4 separate regions of the Homo sapiens genome follow, and regions 2, 3 and 4 are each linked to region 1. Evidence: promoter capture Hi-C in 16 types of primary human blood cells and fetal thymus (Javierre and others, 2016). All regions are on one chromosome and are shown on one strand. The core of a region is centred on a gene start or on the middle of the fragment in contact, and the rest is flanking DNA. Distances in the headings are between cores, read along the strand shown.

The links. The method cuts DNA at HindIII sites, captures the fragments that hold promoters and counts their contacts. A CHiCAGO score of 5 or more calls a contact.
Region 2: the fragment with the promoter of NEMF here is called in contact with the fragment with the promoter of NIN in region 1 in 3 of 17 cell types (naive CD8 T cells, non-activated CD4 T cells and fetal thymus); the score reaches 7.7 in naive CD8 T cells.
Region 3: a contact is called between the fragment with the promoter of ARF6 here and the fragment with the promoter of NIN in region 1, in 9 of 17 cell types (total CD4 T cells, fetal thymus, non-activated CD4 T cells and 6 more). The highest score is 13.0, in total CD4 T cells.
Region 4: a contact is called between a fragment that was not itself captured here and the fragment with the promoter of NIN in region 1, in 1 of 17 cell types (naive CD4 T cells). The highest score is 5.0, in naive CD4 T cells.

Annotation. Positions count from the first base shown.
Region 1 is chr14:50,829,225-50,832,805 of GRCh38, reverse strand. It overlaps NIN (ninein), which reads left to right and starts at 1,644. Exons shown (of 31, transcript NM_020921.4): 1 at 1,644-1,800; 2 at 2,289-2,342. RefSeq lists silencers at 1,303-1,752, 1,803-2,082, 2,153-2,202, 2,223-2,342 and an enhancer at 2,913-2,962. The HindIII fragment of the contact is 8,436 bases long and covers 1-2,905 here.
Region 2 is chr14:49,851,044-49,854,624 of GRCh38, reverse strand. NEMF (nuclear export mediator factor) reads left to right here and starts at 1,837. Exons shown (of 33, transcript NM_004713.6): 1 at 1,837-1,930; 2 at 2,750-2,818; 3 at 2,960-3,062. The coding sequence starts at 1,872. It also overlaps RN7SL3. RefSeq lists a silencer at 728-787 and an enhancer at 1,591-1,830. The HindIII fragment of the contact is 4,280 bases long and covers 1-2,676 here.
Region 3 is chr14:49,891,526-49,895,106 of GRCh38, reverse strand. ARF6 (ARF GTPase 6) reads right to left here and starts at 2,025. Exons shown (of 2, transcript NM_001663.4): 1 at 1,950-2,025; 2 at 1-1,851. The coding sequence starts at 1,370. The coding sequence ends at 843. RefSeq lists enhancers at 1,096-1,145, 1,176-1,495, 2,366-2,465 and silencers at 1,656-1,845, 1,886-2,275. The HindIII fragment of the contact is 6,329 bases long and covers 1-3,581 here.
Region 4 is chr14:50,307,516-50,311,096 of GRCh38, reverse strand. All of the region lies in intron 1 of L2HGDH (L-2-hydroxyglutarate dehydrogenase), which reads left to right. Among named protein-coding and RNA genes, the nearest start is that of L2HGDH, 2.9 kb to the left of the region's middle. The HindIII fragment of the contact is 3,207 bases long and covers 321-3,527 here.

The sequences.
Region 1 (3,581 bases), core at 395-2,894:
TCTTACCTTCCAAGACTGTTGGCTGTTTTAGTGCCCAGTGAGCATTATTGTCTGTCTTACAAGATGACCTCTATGTAAGTATTCTGGTAACAGGTTAGCTATCCTCTTAATGAACTGCGTGTGTGTGTGTGTGTGTTGTATCATATTACTGGATGACTGAACAACCATGCATACAGTGTATGAGTGTGTGTTTGTGTGTGTATGTGTACTTATTCAAGACTGTTTAAAAAGGAGAGAGGAGCATAAATCTCTCTTATTCTGCAGGCACGCTTATATACCGTGTTGAAAGAAGAGAGCCTGGGCTTTTGAATAAGACTGAGATGTTTAAAATTTTTAAAAAAATTTTTTGAGGTAACTGTAAATTCGCTTGAAGTTGTAAGGAATAATAGAGAGATTCCCTATAGACGCTTCACTTAATTTTTCTCAATGGTAACATTTTGCATAACTGTAGAACAATATTACAATCAGTAAATGGACATTAGTGTAGTCCAAATGTCTTATTCAAATTTCATGAGTTTCACGTGCTCTCATTTGTGAGTGTATATTCAGTTCTATGCAATTTTGCCACATATGTGATCTGCTTTTGAATCTCAGTTCTGTGGAGTTCCTGCTGTGTGATCCTGAGGAAGCTCTTTGACTTCTGGGAGATCCATTTTCCTCATCTGCAAAATAATGTCTGCCTCCTAAGAGTGATGTGAGAATTAGATAAGATAATTTCTGTCGAGTTTCTAGCGCACTGGATTCTCAAGGAATGCTGGTTTCCTCTTGTCTGTTGCTTGCTTTCTCGGTAGAAAAGGAATCACCAGTTTCCTGCTAAAATAACCAGACTTGTGGGTTGTAATCCATCAGGCGGATCCTTCAAGGGCAACACATTTAACCCTGCAGCTCAAAAAGAACCATGGCCTGGACTTGGGATCCTATTTGACTGCAATGAGATCAGAAGTGTAGGGATGGGGGAGTGAGAACGCAGACTCTGGGGTAGTAGGTAGGAGGCGATTAATATCGAGCAACTGTTGGGCTGGGAACCACCAACTCCAAGGAGTTTTCGTCCTGTGTGGCTTGCGACCGAGGGTTAGCTTCACCCGGAGAAGGCTGCACAGGGGCGGGAGCCTGTGAGGACGTGGTGGGCAGGTGCGGAAGCCAGTGTAGACCCGGCAGGAGGGTCGCGCTCGCTCTACAGGGTTCCGAGTCACTTCTACAGCCCTTCTGCCTCCTGAACACCCTTTCCAATGTTGATGGCCAATCGACACCCGAGGGCTGGGAAATCACCCCCTTAAAGTCCCGCTTGCTGAAGGCGGGGGCCCTTCCTCTGCGCGAAGACGCTGCGGCCCGAGTGTCCGCGGTGCGGGTGAGTGTAGGCGTGTTGGGAAAGAAAGGGAGGCGGACAGGCAAGGGGCGAGGGTGGCAGCGCCAGCCCCAGCTCGGTGGCGACCTCGGGGCGCCAGCCTCCTACACCCGCACCCGGAGCCCCGGCGTTTCTAACTTCAGATCTCGGAGGCGGGCGCTCGGAGCGGGAGGGCGCGTCTGCGAGGGCTCAGGCGGCGCCGCCCGCTCCTCCCTCCGCTGCCTGAGCCGCGCGGGCCGCAGAGGAGGAGCCGCGCCGGGGCCGGCGTCGCCCTGACTCCTCCTCCCCGCGCGGGCCCGGCCCTTCCTCCCCGGCGTCCAGAGCTCCGGGTGGCCGCGGCCGAGCCGGGAGCCGAGCGCGCTGGGCGCGGCCGTCCCGCTGCCGCCGCCAAGCCCGGAGTGCGCCAGCGGCCATGGTTCCCGCGGCGGCGCCGGGCGCCTGAGCCCCGGGACGCAGTAAGTGGCGCAACCCCGGGGACCCGGACCCACGGCCTGGGGGTGCACGGAGGCCTCGCGCTGCCCCCGCGCCGTCGGCGAGGCCCTGAGAGCCCGGAGCGAACTGGGCACCGGATCACTCGGGGGCTTCCCATTTGGGGTCCGGGGCCAGCGGGGCGCAATCCCTGCGGGCCGGGAGGAAGCAGCGGCCGGGCGGGAGGACGAGGCGGGGACGGGGCTGCTTCGGAGGCGGGAGGAGGGGCCGGTCCCGGAGGCGCGGGCTGCGCGGGCGGGGGCGGGCCGGCGGGGGCGGGGAGGATGCGCGCTGCAGCCCGCGGCCCCCGAGAGCCGCGCTTTTGTAAGAGCTGGCCCCTTACATATGGAAATGACGCTCACGCGGGTCCCCATTCGCGTCCTTTTGAAGGACGCCCGCCCGGAACCGCTGCGCCGGCTGCGAAGTATTGTCCCGTTTCTCCAGCCCTAACAAAGCGTCCTCCTTCGCTTTGCAGAGCGCTGGAGGCGGGCTGCCGGCTGTGCGGGCGCTCCGGAGAGACCGACAGAAGGTAGGCGAGGGCGGCGGGGCCGGGGGAGCGCGCTGCCTGCCCACACAATGGGCTGTCTGAGGTTTCTGGTAGTGGCGATGGGCAGGCGAGTTGAGGACGCATCGCAGGTGGCCAGGGACTTGGGAGGCGCGCTTGTCCTGCGGCCGCACCTCCGCTTCCCCGCGCGGCAGCACCGCTGGGTTTGGGCACTTCCAGTACCCCCGACGCCCCGGCCGCCTGCCCGGAGCTGAAAGCCGCTTCTGTGCTTTGACCGAGAGCAGGCTTGAGTCCCCGAGGGAGCAGAAGGGGTGGTGGTTCCGTTGGCATGTGCCGCCCGTACAGCCTTGTGATTGAGACGCTGCAGAGGAAACTGCATGGGGAAATCCGAGGTGTTAGCCTGGGCTGTCTGAGTAGCGGAGAGCTGCTTGGAGCCCGGAAAGTGGAGATTTTTGGAGGTGTGCGGGGTCGATGCGCGTAAACAGTTTCCCAGTATAATGCCCAGGAGAAGGGGAAAGAACAAAATGACATTTGGTTATTGCCTAAAAGGTGTGGCATGGAGGTATGGAGTGTCGGGGAAGGAAGCTTCCAGCGGCTAGGCTTCTGTAGCTACCGAAGCGGCCCCTGACAGAAGGACACTAGGTGATGGGAACAGTCACTGCTTCCAGCTCTCGCTGCGAAGTTAAAAGAGATAGAGACGGAAAGAGGCAATTTCCCTAACCCCAGCCCTGACAACCCGAGGTGAAGGCACCAACAAAATGGGAGCTGGAAAGACTGCCCTACCATATATCATGTTTCCAGACAACTTGGATATTATGAGATCTGCTTTCTGCTCCTAACTAGGACAGATCCTCTCCTGGTGTTGAGGACTTCTAAGATGGGCTTGCCATACAGCTCAACTCCTGAATTTATTACATCGAAACAGATTGCGTAGTTGTCTTTTGTGACTGACATGGTAGCTTTGTAGGATGAGAATCCTGATAAAGTCCATCCTGACACATGAGGGAAGCCCCTGGAACCACGACGTTTCTCAGTTAGGTCCCCGTAAACACCATAACATACACACATGTTTGCATGATTCCGGAGGCTTGATGATCTAACAAGGAAAATTCCTTTTTTCTGTCAGTTTAATTTTACCTTGAGTCTTCTCTCGTGGTGAGCATATTATATAGGTGGCTGACCTGGAATATTGGTGGCTCTTGCTCCGGAGTTGAAGGGAGCTGAGGATTTCCAGAGTGTGTATAGGAGGAACATTACAGGCTG
Region 2 (3,581 bases), core at 588-3,087, 980 kb after region 1:
AAGTCCTGGAAACCACATTTCTGCTGTCTGTTTCTATGAGAAACTTCTAGATTCCACGTATAAGTGAGATCATGCAGTATTTGTCTTTTTATGTCTGGCTTATTTCACTTAGCATAATGTCCTCCAGGTTCATCCATGTTGTTAAATCCATGCCAGTTGCAAACAGCAAGATTTATTTCTTTTTTGAAAGCTGAATAATATTCCACTGTATGTATGTATGTGTGTGTGTGTGTGTGTGTACATATATATTTGCACTCATTATCCGTTCATCCATTGATGAAAAGTAGATTATCCCTATATCTTGGCTATTGTGAATAATGCTGCAATGAACATGAACATATATCTTCAGGATAGTGATGTTGTTGCTAGATCACATGGTAATTCTATTCTTAATTTTGTGAGGAGCCTTTATACTGTTTTGCACAATGGCTCTACTAATTTACATTCCCATCAACAGCATACAAAAGTTCCCTGTTCTCCACCTTCTCCCCAATGCTTTCATATTTTGGGCCATTCTGTATGGTTTACTGTACCGTATGACAGTAATGCTGTGCAGTATGTGCTATAGCCATTTTTGCATCTACTGGTACCAGTTCTGAAATAGCAGCGGCGCCCTTTCTGTTTAGAGTCGCCTTCTGGTGGTAGGAATTCTGGTTGCTACCATGTGTAGCCTGCAAGCCTCTAGCAGCTCTTTTGCAGCGACGCCGAGCGCCGGGCGCGGTGGCGCGTGCCTGTAGTCCCAGCTACTCGGGAGGCTGAGGCTGGAGGATCCCTTGAGTTCAGGAGTTCTGGGCTGTAGTGCGCTATGCCGATCGGGTGTCCGCACTGAGTTCGGCATCAATATGGTGACCTCCCGGGAGCGGGGGACCACCAGGTTGCCTAAGGAGGGGTGAACCGGCCCAGGTCGGAAACGGAGCAGGTCAAAACTCCCGTGCTGATCAGTAGTGGGATTGCGCCTGTGAATAGCCACTGCACTCCAGCCTGGGCAACATAGTGAGACCCTGCCTCTTTTGAGTTCTCACCTTATAAAGTAGCCTTTCTTCCCATGCATCTATCCTAAGACAAAAGAAATGCAGAATTTACATTCTTACAGGACTATTTTCCTCACTACACTGTGAATCCCCCCTCCCACCCCACCCCCATTGGGAATCTTCTTGTTTTTATTTTTATCTTATTTCACCATTATCTAGCTAAACACTTGCACATTCATGCTGCCAAGTGTTTATGGAGCACCGATTGTACACCAGGTACTGCGGTGAGTCTCAGGGGTACCAAGACCGAGGTTCGATGAGAATCCTGTAATCAATTGCAGAATGCTCCTTCCGAGAGCAGGACCCATCAAAATAGGAACTCCGTTTTGAGAGTTCGCCTCGATCGTTGAGGATAATCTTAGAAGGACCGAAGCAGTTCCGTTTCGTTACATTTCAAAATCTTATGTCAAAGTAAGCGCGCAGAAAGGGGTCCTTGCTCTTCTACACTGAGCCCTACGGCCCCCCTGTGGGGAAATACTCCTGATAATCATCTCGAAAATTGTTTCGACCAGCAGGGGTCACTATGAAGGCTGACTTGAGCCCAAGACACAATGGGGCACGGTAACCAGACTGGTCCGTAAGGGTTCCAGGAAGGAATGCAGTTTCAAGAGAACAGTTTGAATCTTTATTCGAATTTGAATTTTGGTACAATGAAGAGAGTCAGCTGCAACTTGACAATCGAAATCTTCAGAAAAGCGACACAAATACGTTCGCCTCGAGGAATATTGGGTCTTCTGCGCGGCCGTAGAGCTCCGCCAAGTGCGCCTGCGCGGAGGAGAAGTGGCGTCGAGTCCGGCCGGGCAGTAGAGGAACTTGCGGTAGTGACCCTCGGGCCTCGCCATGAAGAGCCGCTTTAGCACCATTGACCTCCGCGCCGTACTCGCGGAGCTGAATGCTAGGTACAGTACCCTAAGTGACGAGGCTCGTGTGGGGAGTGCAGGAGGCAGAGGCCGGAGTCCCATGGCGCAAACAGACCAGCTTGATATGTTTCCTTATTTCCTAGTGCGTCTATGGACCTGCCTAGGCCTGAGTGGGCAGGCGTGTGGTGTCTTTCCCGTGACCCTTAGGATACCCCTGGGGGTCCCAGGCACCTCGTGCCCCATCCCCCGCGTCCTCCCAGCTCTCTGGCTTGCCCCGCTAGCGCGAAGCTCTTGCATTGTTGGCCTGGGTTGTCCGGGTTGGGCAGGAAACGTTTGTTAAAACACGAGACGCCAGAGTGGTCGTTTGCTTCAGAGGTTTCCAGACTGGGGGCTTGGTTTCTTGAACACCTCCCTCCCCTCACCCCAGAGAGAGAGAGAGCATCGCGGTTTTAGCTGGATTGAGCAGATTTGGACTGAGATCTGGATTCTAGTCTGGATTCTATTATTCAGCCCTGTGAGCTTTGTCATATTTTCGGGGCCCTCTTTTATCTTTTTTTTTTCTCCCTTGTAATAAATTAATTGGATTATATTTTACTGTATTTCTCCCCCAAAATTGGGTCATTTGGAAGACGCAAGCTATAGTGTGTTGTTCCTAGAGCTGATAGACCACTTCTGTTTTTAAATCGTTACTCTTAAGTTTTGAACTGAATCTCCAAATGGCTTTCAGACTCTGCTCCTCGGCTGACTCCATATCCTTAGAGACTGAGATCCGCTCTTTCGAAGCTTTTATTAAATTATGTGTAGTTTTATGTTTCAGACAATAGTGTAACATGTTACATGTTTCCTTTATCTTTGCAGCTTGCTAGGAATGAGAGTAAACAATGTTTATGATGTGGATAATAAGACATACCTTATTCGTCTTCAAAAGTAAGAACATTTTATAGGCTTATTTTCTCTTTGACAATTAAGTATGAGATTACTGATTTTTTTTAACCTACATTTTAAGCCTGTTTAGCAATTAGCTTTGGCATATACCCTAAAGAAAAATTCGACTTTTTTCTTCTACAGACCGGACTTTAAAGCTACACTTTTACTTGAATCTGGCATACGAATTCATACAACAGAATTTGAGTGGCCTAAGAATATGATGCCGTCTAGTTTTGCCATGAAGGTAAACTTGTTACGCTTGAAGCTAAATTTTAAGAGATTGCTCACTAACAATTAAGTTTTTAATTGGGGTTTCCTTCACTGTTACGAATAAAGTGCAGATAAAATGAAGGTAAAGGGAGTGGTTGACAGATAATGGGTTGAATAAAGTGAATATTTATTAATTGATTTCTCCCCATTACCTTTCACATCCTGTTCTGCTCCAGATCTTCTGTTTCCACAGTCACTATTAGAGTTCAAGCTTTTATCACATTCAGCCTTACAGTTCCTTAACTGTAATTCACTTCTCTGCATCAAAACAATTCTAAATTAGACCAACGTTAATTTTTTTGTTTTTGTTTGTTTGTTTTTTTGTTCGTTTTTGAGAAGGAGTCTCGCTCTGTCACCCAGGCTGGAGTGCAGTGGCACAGTCTTGGCTCACTGCAACCTCTGCCTCCCAGGTTCAAGTGATTCTCTTGCCTCAGCCTCCTCAGTAGCTGGGATTACAGGCGTGTGCCACCAGACCCGGCTAATTTCTCTATTT
Region 3 (3,581 bases), core at 776-3,275, 940 kb after region 1:
TTTGCAGTGGAAAGAAAAAGTGTCCTTCATGGGTTACACTTTCATATTTTTATGCAGCATTAAGTTATCTACGTTATGGGGAACTTGGGTTTTATTCCTACTCATGCATGATGTGTTTCAGAACTTACTTGCTGACATTTCAGAGAACTTCTTACATTACCTGTTTAACATACTGAGGTGCAACTGGAACATATTACAATATTACTCATTATTTGCCACTGTGGGCTAAGTTTACTATACTGGTCTTAGATATAAAAGGTCACATTTGAAATTACTAAGTTAGAACTCATAAGGAAGGGGGGGGAAGGCCTTAAATATAAAAGACAAACGGCAGTTTGATTAAGCAATAATTTTCAGTTTACTAGATGAAACAGACTTGCAACATAGTCTGCATGAATGCAAAATAAGCCATCTACAGCAAGTGATAAGGAAACTGGGCAAAAAAGGAAAAAAGCATACATAGGAAAATGAAAGATTCTCTCGAAATAAAAAAATCAAACTATTATTACAAAGGACTTTACCAAGAACTGCTGTGTTTCCCCCATCCCATCTGCTGGAAGTCAACAAGAGCATCTAGCAACTTTGTGTTCATGTCAAATGTCAGATCAGAGCATCCTAACGCAAAGCCAACAAAAAAAAAAAAAAAAAAAAAAGGAAAAAGAAAGGGAAACAAACAAAAGAGAAAACCCCCAAGCCCCGTCCCCGCCAAACTGTAGAACAGTAACTCCAGAGTTCAAATTCAAAAGAAGAGAAAGTGGCAATTGAAAGAGGTGATGGTGGCGATAATCCTATGAATGGGTTTTTGATTTCTCTCCTTCCAGGGGATGGGTGGAGAATGCTCATTAAGATTTGTAGTTAGAGGTTAACCATGTGAGCCCCTCATAGAGTCCGTCCCCTGAGGTGGCACAGGAGGGCTGCACATACCAGTTCCTGTCCCGAATCCGGGTCAGGCCCAGTTTCTCCTGGATCTCGTGGGGTTTCATGGCATCGGGCAGGTCCTGCTTGTTGGCGAAGATGAGGATTATGGCGTCCCTCATCTCCCGGTCATTGATAATGCGGTGCAGCTCCTGGCGAGCCTCATCGATGCGGTCGCGGTCGGCGCAGTCCACTACGAAGATGAGACCTTGGGTCCCAGTGTAGTAATGCCGCCAGAGCGGCCGGATCTTGTCCTGGCCGCCCACATCCCATACGTTGAACTTGACATTTTTGTAAGTCACCGTCTCCACGTTGAAACCCACAGTGGGAATGGTGGTCACCGACTGGCCCAGCTTCAACTTGTACAGGATTGTTGTCTTGCCGGCCGCGTCCAGGCCCAACATGAGGATCCGCATTTCCTTGTTCCCGAAGATTTTGGATAGCACCTTCCCCATCGCGTCGGAGGAGCCGGGGCCGGGGGCATTCAGGTGTCCCGGGTCCCCTCAGCCAACAACGCCGCCGCCGCCGCGAAACCGAAACGAAGCCTCTCGGCCGCGAGAGCGCCTTTGCGGCCTGCGTGGGAGTTGCCTCCTAAGGGCAGAGGCCCAGGCCCCCCGCTCACTCGGGCATCACCGACCGCACAACTTGATTTCTCCAGTCGCCGCCGCCACCCGGGCCCTGAGACTGCGCTGGGAGCCGCCGCCCTGCTGAGGCGCGGCCCGGCCCGGAACTGCCCTTCCCCCCGCAGGCGCCGCGCGAGCGCCGCCGCGGTTCCCGCTCCTCCGCCTTCCTCTCACCGCGAGGGAGACTGCAGCCCTCCGGCCCGCCCGCCGGCCTGCGAGCACTGGGCTCCCCACCGACCCAGGACACCCGAGAGGCAGCGCGGCTCCGGGGCCCCGTCAGGTCATGGATCCTCGCGGGAACTCGGTGCGCTGCCTGCAGAGAAACAGAGAGGGAGGGGAGTTACTGCCAGAGCTCCACAAAGGAGCGAAGACCGAGGTGGCCCGCCTTTCCAGCTCGGCCCAAGGGGTTACCTCCAGCCGCCGCCCCGAGCGCGGGCTCCCTCCGGCCTCCAACTCCTCCTCCCAGTTCTGCCGCCGCCGCTGCCGGAAAAGGCGCCGAGGAAACCGCCTCACTTCCCCTCCCGACCACGCAGGCGCAGCAGAGGCCGACCGTTCGGACAAGAGCGACCTCTGTAAGGAGAGCGGCCCGCGCGCCTAGCGTCATGGGCGCCACGCGCCGGAGGGGCGGGGCTACGGCGCCTCGGAGGGCTCGCAGATGCGGCCGGCCCAGAGCCCTCGAACCTCGGACTCTGACTCGCGCCTACCCGTGGCTCTTCTAGCGTCTCCTTCCCTGCTTTTCTCTTTTGCGCTCTGCCCTCCCCTGCCCACCCGAACCAAGGGAGCAGATCTACTGGGGGGCCCTACAGGGTGGGGCCCACGGGCAGCCCGCTCTCTCCACGAACCGAGCTGCCTCCAGGCCTGTTCCCAGACCTCGGTGCCCGCCAGATGCTCTGCGAATTCCCTCCGCCCGCCCCAGCCTTCCCGCACCCTCCGCGCTCCCTGAACGTCCCAGGGAAGCTCTGTTCGCTTTTGTTTTTTTTTTTTTTCCCTTTTTCGCAACCCCTTCTTGGCTTCCTTTATCCCTTGAATTTTGTATGTTTCCTGAAAGACACGTGGGAGGCCAGTGTCTCGTGTGGAATCTGCCAGTCAGTGCAGCGCTTTCCCGGAGTTGAGTTTACTCTGCAGCTCTTTTGAATGTTTGAGCCCTGTCTGCCTATAGGTCTCGTCAAGACCAGCCCATGTTTCTTAAAAACTGCAGTATTATGAAGAGTTCCTGTGCCTTGCCGCGTTTTCACCTTTTTAGAATGCGACATCTGTTCATCTTTAAAATATCATTTTATCTCATACTGTTAGTAGTAGCTTCTTAACTACTACCCATTCTTAACTTTAAGAAGCATAGAATTTAGAATATAGAACGACCGCTTGTATGGCCTGGATCTGGGCACTTAACCTTACTAAGTTTATCTCGTGTAAACTGACCTTGCTAACTCACGTGAGGCTTAAATAATACAATGTGGAAGACTTCAGGGCACATTTTTGGTTTTTTGGTTTTTGTTTGTTTCTTGAGACGGGGTCTCACTCTGTCGCCCAGGCTGGAGTCCAGTTGCACAATCTCGGCTCACTGCAGCCTCCTCATCCTGGGTTCAAGCAGTTCTGCCTTAGCCTCCGGAGCAGCTGGAATTAGGTCGCCCACCACCACGCCCGGCTAATTTTTGTATTTTTAGTAGAGACGGGGTTTCACCATGTTGGCCAGGCTGGTCTCGAAGTCCTGACCTCAGGTGATCCACCCGCCTCGGCCCCCCAAAATGCTGGGATTACAGGCGTGAGCCACTGCGCCCTGCCAAGGACACATTTTTGTATCAAATGGTTAATGATAAAATTAGACTTAAAATAACGTGAAACCTTCAAATATCAAGGGGAGAAAAACAGGAAATGGGTATCTTTGTTTAAAAAGCAAGATGCTATAAACAGCATATGGTAACATACTGTTTTTATTAAACAAATTTAAAATATTAGATAATGGTAGATAGGTTATATGATAACCTTATAAACGTCATTTCAGTCGGAAATAAACTTATTAAACATTAATATTCTAACAATTAT
Region 4 (3,581 bases), core at 675-3,174, 520 kb after region 1:
GTGGTGGTGGGCGCCTGTAATCCCAACTACTCCGGAGCCTTAGGAGAATCGCTTGAACCTGGGAGGCGGAGATTGCAGTAAGCTGAGATCGCACCATTGCACTCCAGCCTGGGCGACAGAGCAAGACTCTGTCTCGCAAAAAAAAAAAAAAAAAAAAAAAGAAAAGAAAAGAAAAAAAGAAGAGGCTAATAATTAAATGTTGATGTTCTAAAAGTTGACTCTGGCTGCTGCGTGTTGGTGGATAGGGGGAGTAGAGTGGGATACCAGTAATAGCGATTGTGATTTGTTATGGGGCATGTGGACAGTTCTTTTGGGAAGCTTTTCTTAAGGAAAGAAAAGTAGGGCTAGTGAAAGTTTTGTTTATACTTAAAATGTTTTTTTAAAAAATTTTTGGAGTCAGGGTCTCACTGTGTTGCCAAGGCTGGAGTGCAGTGGCACAATCATAGCTCACTGCAGCCTCCACCCTCCTGGGCTCAAGCGATCCTCCCTCCTCAGCCCCCCTCCCCAATGCTTCCTGTCCTCCAGGAGCTGGGACCACAGGCAGCTAATTATTTTCCTATTTTTTTGTAGAGACGTTGCCCAGGGTGGTCTCGAACCCCTGGCCTCAAGTGAACCTCCCTCTTCAGCCACCCAAAGTGCTGAGATTACAGGTGTGAGCCACCGTGCCTGGCCTATACTTTTATTTTGAAGTAATTATAGATCCATTGGAAATTGCAAAAATAGTACAGGCCAAGCGTGGTGACTCAGGCCTGTAATCCCAGTGCTTTGGGAGGCTGAGGCAGGAGGATCACTTGAGCCCAGAAGTTTGAGACCAGCCTGGGCAAAATATAAGATCCCTTCTCTACAAAATAAAAAATAAAAATAAATAAACAGTACAAAGAGATCCCATGTACCCTTCACCCCATTTACCCCAATGAAAACATCTTATATAACTATAGTACAATATCAAAACTAGGAAATTGATATTGGCAAAATCCACGGACATTGTTCAGCTTTCATCAGTTTTACATATATTCGTGTGTGTGTGTGTGTTTAGTTCTATGCAGTTTAATCATATGTATTAATTTGTGTAACTACCACCTCAATTAAGATATGAAAATGTGGCCAGGCATGCTGGCTCATGCCTATAATCTCAGCACTTTGGGAGGCCGAGGTGGGAGGATAGGTTGAGCCTCAGAGTTGGAGACCAGCCTGGGCAACAAAGGGAGACGGCAAAACCCCTGCTCTACAAAAAAATTAAAAAATAATTAGCCAGGTGTGGTGGCTTGCTCCTGTAGTCCCAGCCACTTGTGGGGCTGAGGCAGGAGGATCGCTTGAGCCCAGGAGGTTGAAGGTGTGGTGACCTGTGATTACACCGCCGCGCTGAAGCCTGGACAACAGAGCAAGACTCTCTTAAAAAAAAAAAAAAGGGTGGTATAAAAATATTCTATTGCCACAAGGTTATCTGTTGTGTTACCTATCTCTTTATATTCACACCTTCCTCTCCATTCTTCCTAACTCTTGGCAACTGTGAATCTAAATTTTTTTTTTTTTTTAACACGAAGTCTCGCTTTGTCACCCAGGCTGGAGTACAGTGGCATGATCTTGGCTCACTGCAACCTCTGTCTCCTAGGTTGAAGGGATTCTCCTGCCTCAGCCTCCTGAGTAGCTGGGATTACAGGCATGTGCCACCACGCCCAGCTGATTTTGTATTTTGAGTAGAGATAGGGTTTCACCGTGTTGGCCAGGCTGGTCTCAAACTCCTGACCTCAGGTGATCCACCCGCCTCAGCCTCCCAAAGTATTGGGATTACAGGCATGAGCCACTGCACCCGGCCTGAAATTTTTTATATCACCAAATATTCAGTATAAAACTTTTAGAAAAAGGACAAGATCTTTGGACATAGAGATGACATCAAAAGCATGATCTCTAAAAGAAAAAAATTGACAAAATGGACTTCATCAAAATGAAAAACTTTTGCTCTGCAAAAGACTGTTAAGAGAATGAAAAAACTACCAAGACGTGGGAAAAAAATACCAGCAACTGCATATCTCCCAAAGGACTAATACACAAAATACATAAAGAACTCTCAAAACAAGCCTTTGGAGATTGGCTTTTTTTCACACAGCATACTATCCTTAAGATCCATGCAAGGCGTCGCCTGTATTGATAGCAGGTTTTTCAAAATTGTTGAATAGAATTCCATGGTATGGATACATCACAATTTGTTTAACCGTTTACCATGGGTTGAAGAACATCCAAGCTGCTTCCAGTTTTTGGCTATTACGAATAAAGCTACTATGAACATTCATGTTCAGGTTTTTGTATGAACATAAGTTTCATTTCTCTGGAATAAATGCCCAAGACTGCAGTTACTGAGTCATGTAGTAAGTCCATGTTTAGTTTCTTTTTAAGAAACTGCCATACTCTTTTCCAGAGTGGCTGTACTATTTTACATTCCCACCAGCTATGTGTGAGTAATCCAGTTTCCCTTCATTCTCACCAGCATTTGGGGTGATCACTTTTTAAATTTTAGCCATTCTGATAGAGACGTAGTGATATCTCATTGTGGTTTTTATTTACATTTCTCTGATGCAATGATGTTTGAACAATGCATTGACTAATGGTGTTGAACATCTTTTCATGTGCTTCTTTGCCATCTGTGTATCTGTCCTCTTTGATGAAATATTTGTTCATATCTTTTGCCCACTTTTTTTTTTTTTTTTTTTCTGAGATGGAGTTTCGCCTTGTTGCCCAGGCTGGAGCGCAGTGGCGCGGTCTCGGCTCACCGCAGAGGCCTCCTGGGTTCAAGCAATTCTCCTGCCTCAGCCTCCCGAGTAGCTGGGATTACAGGCATGCGCCACCATGCCCAGCCAATTTTGTCTTTTTAGTAGAGATGGGGTTTCTCCATGTTGGCATGGCTGGTCTCAAACTCCTGACGTCAGGTGATCCGCCCGCCTTGGCCTCCCAAAGTGCTGGGATTAAAGGCGTGAGCCATCGCACCCGGCCTGCCTACGTTCTAAATGGCTTGTTTTGAGAGTTCTTTTATGTATGAGTCCTTTGGGAGATATGCAGTTACTAGTATTTTTTTCCAATTTCTTAGTTTTTTTATCCTCTTAACAGAGTCTTTTTGCAGAGCAAAAGTTTTATGTTTTGATGAAGTCCATTTTATCAGTTTTTTTTCTTTTATGGATCATGTTTTTGATGTCAACTCTAAGTCCCAAGATTTTGTCCTATTTTTTCCTAAAAGTTTTAAAGTGAATATTAGGTGATGTAAAAAATTTTGTGTTAGTTTTTTTAACTATAATGGTAGTGTGTGTTTTTAGAGATGCCTTTTAGAAATAACATTGAAATATTTACAGATGAAATAATGTGGTGTTTAAGATTTGCATCAAAATAATATAATACAGGAGGGGATGAAATAGAGTATAGAAGAAGCAAGATTTGCTGTGAGTTGATAATTAGTGAAGCTGGGTGATGTATATGTGGGGCTTCATTGAACTATTTTGTCTAACTTTGTGTAGGTATGAACTTTTCCATAAAAAGCTTAAGAAAATTATCTGTTAAACCATTCATTGGTGTTAACTTGAGATTAAGTGAGT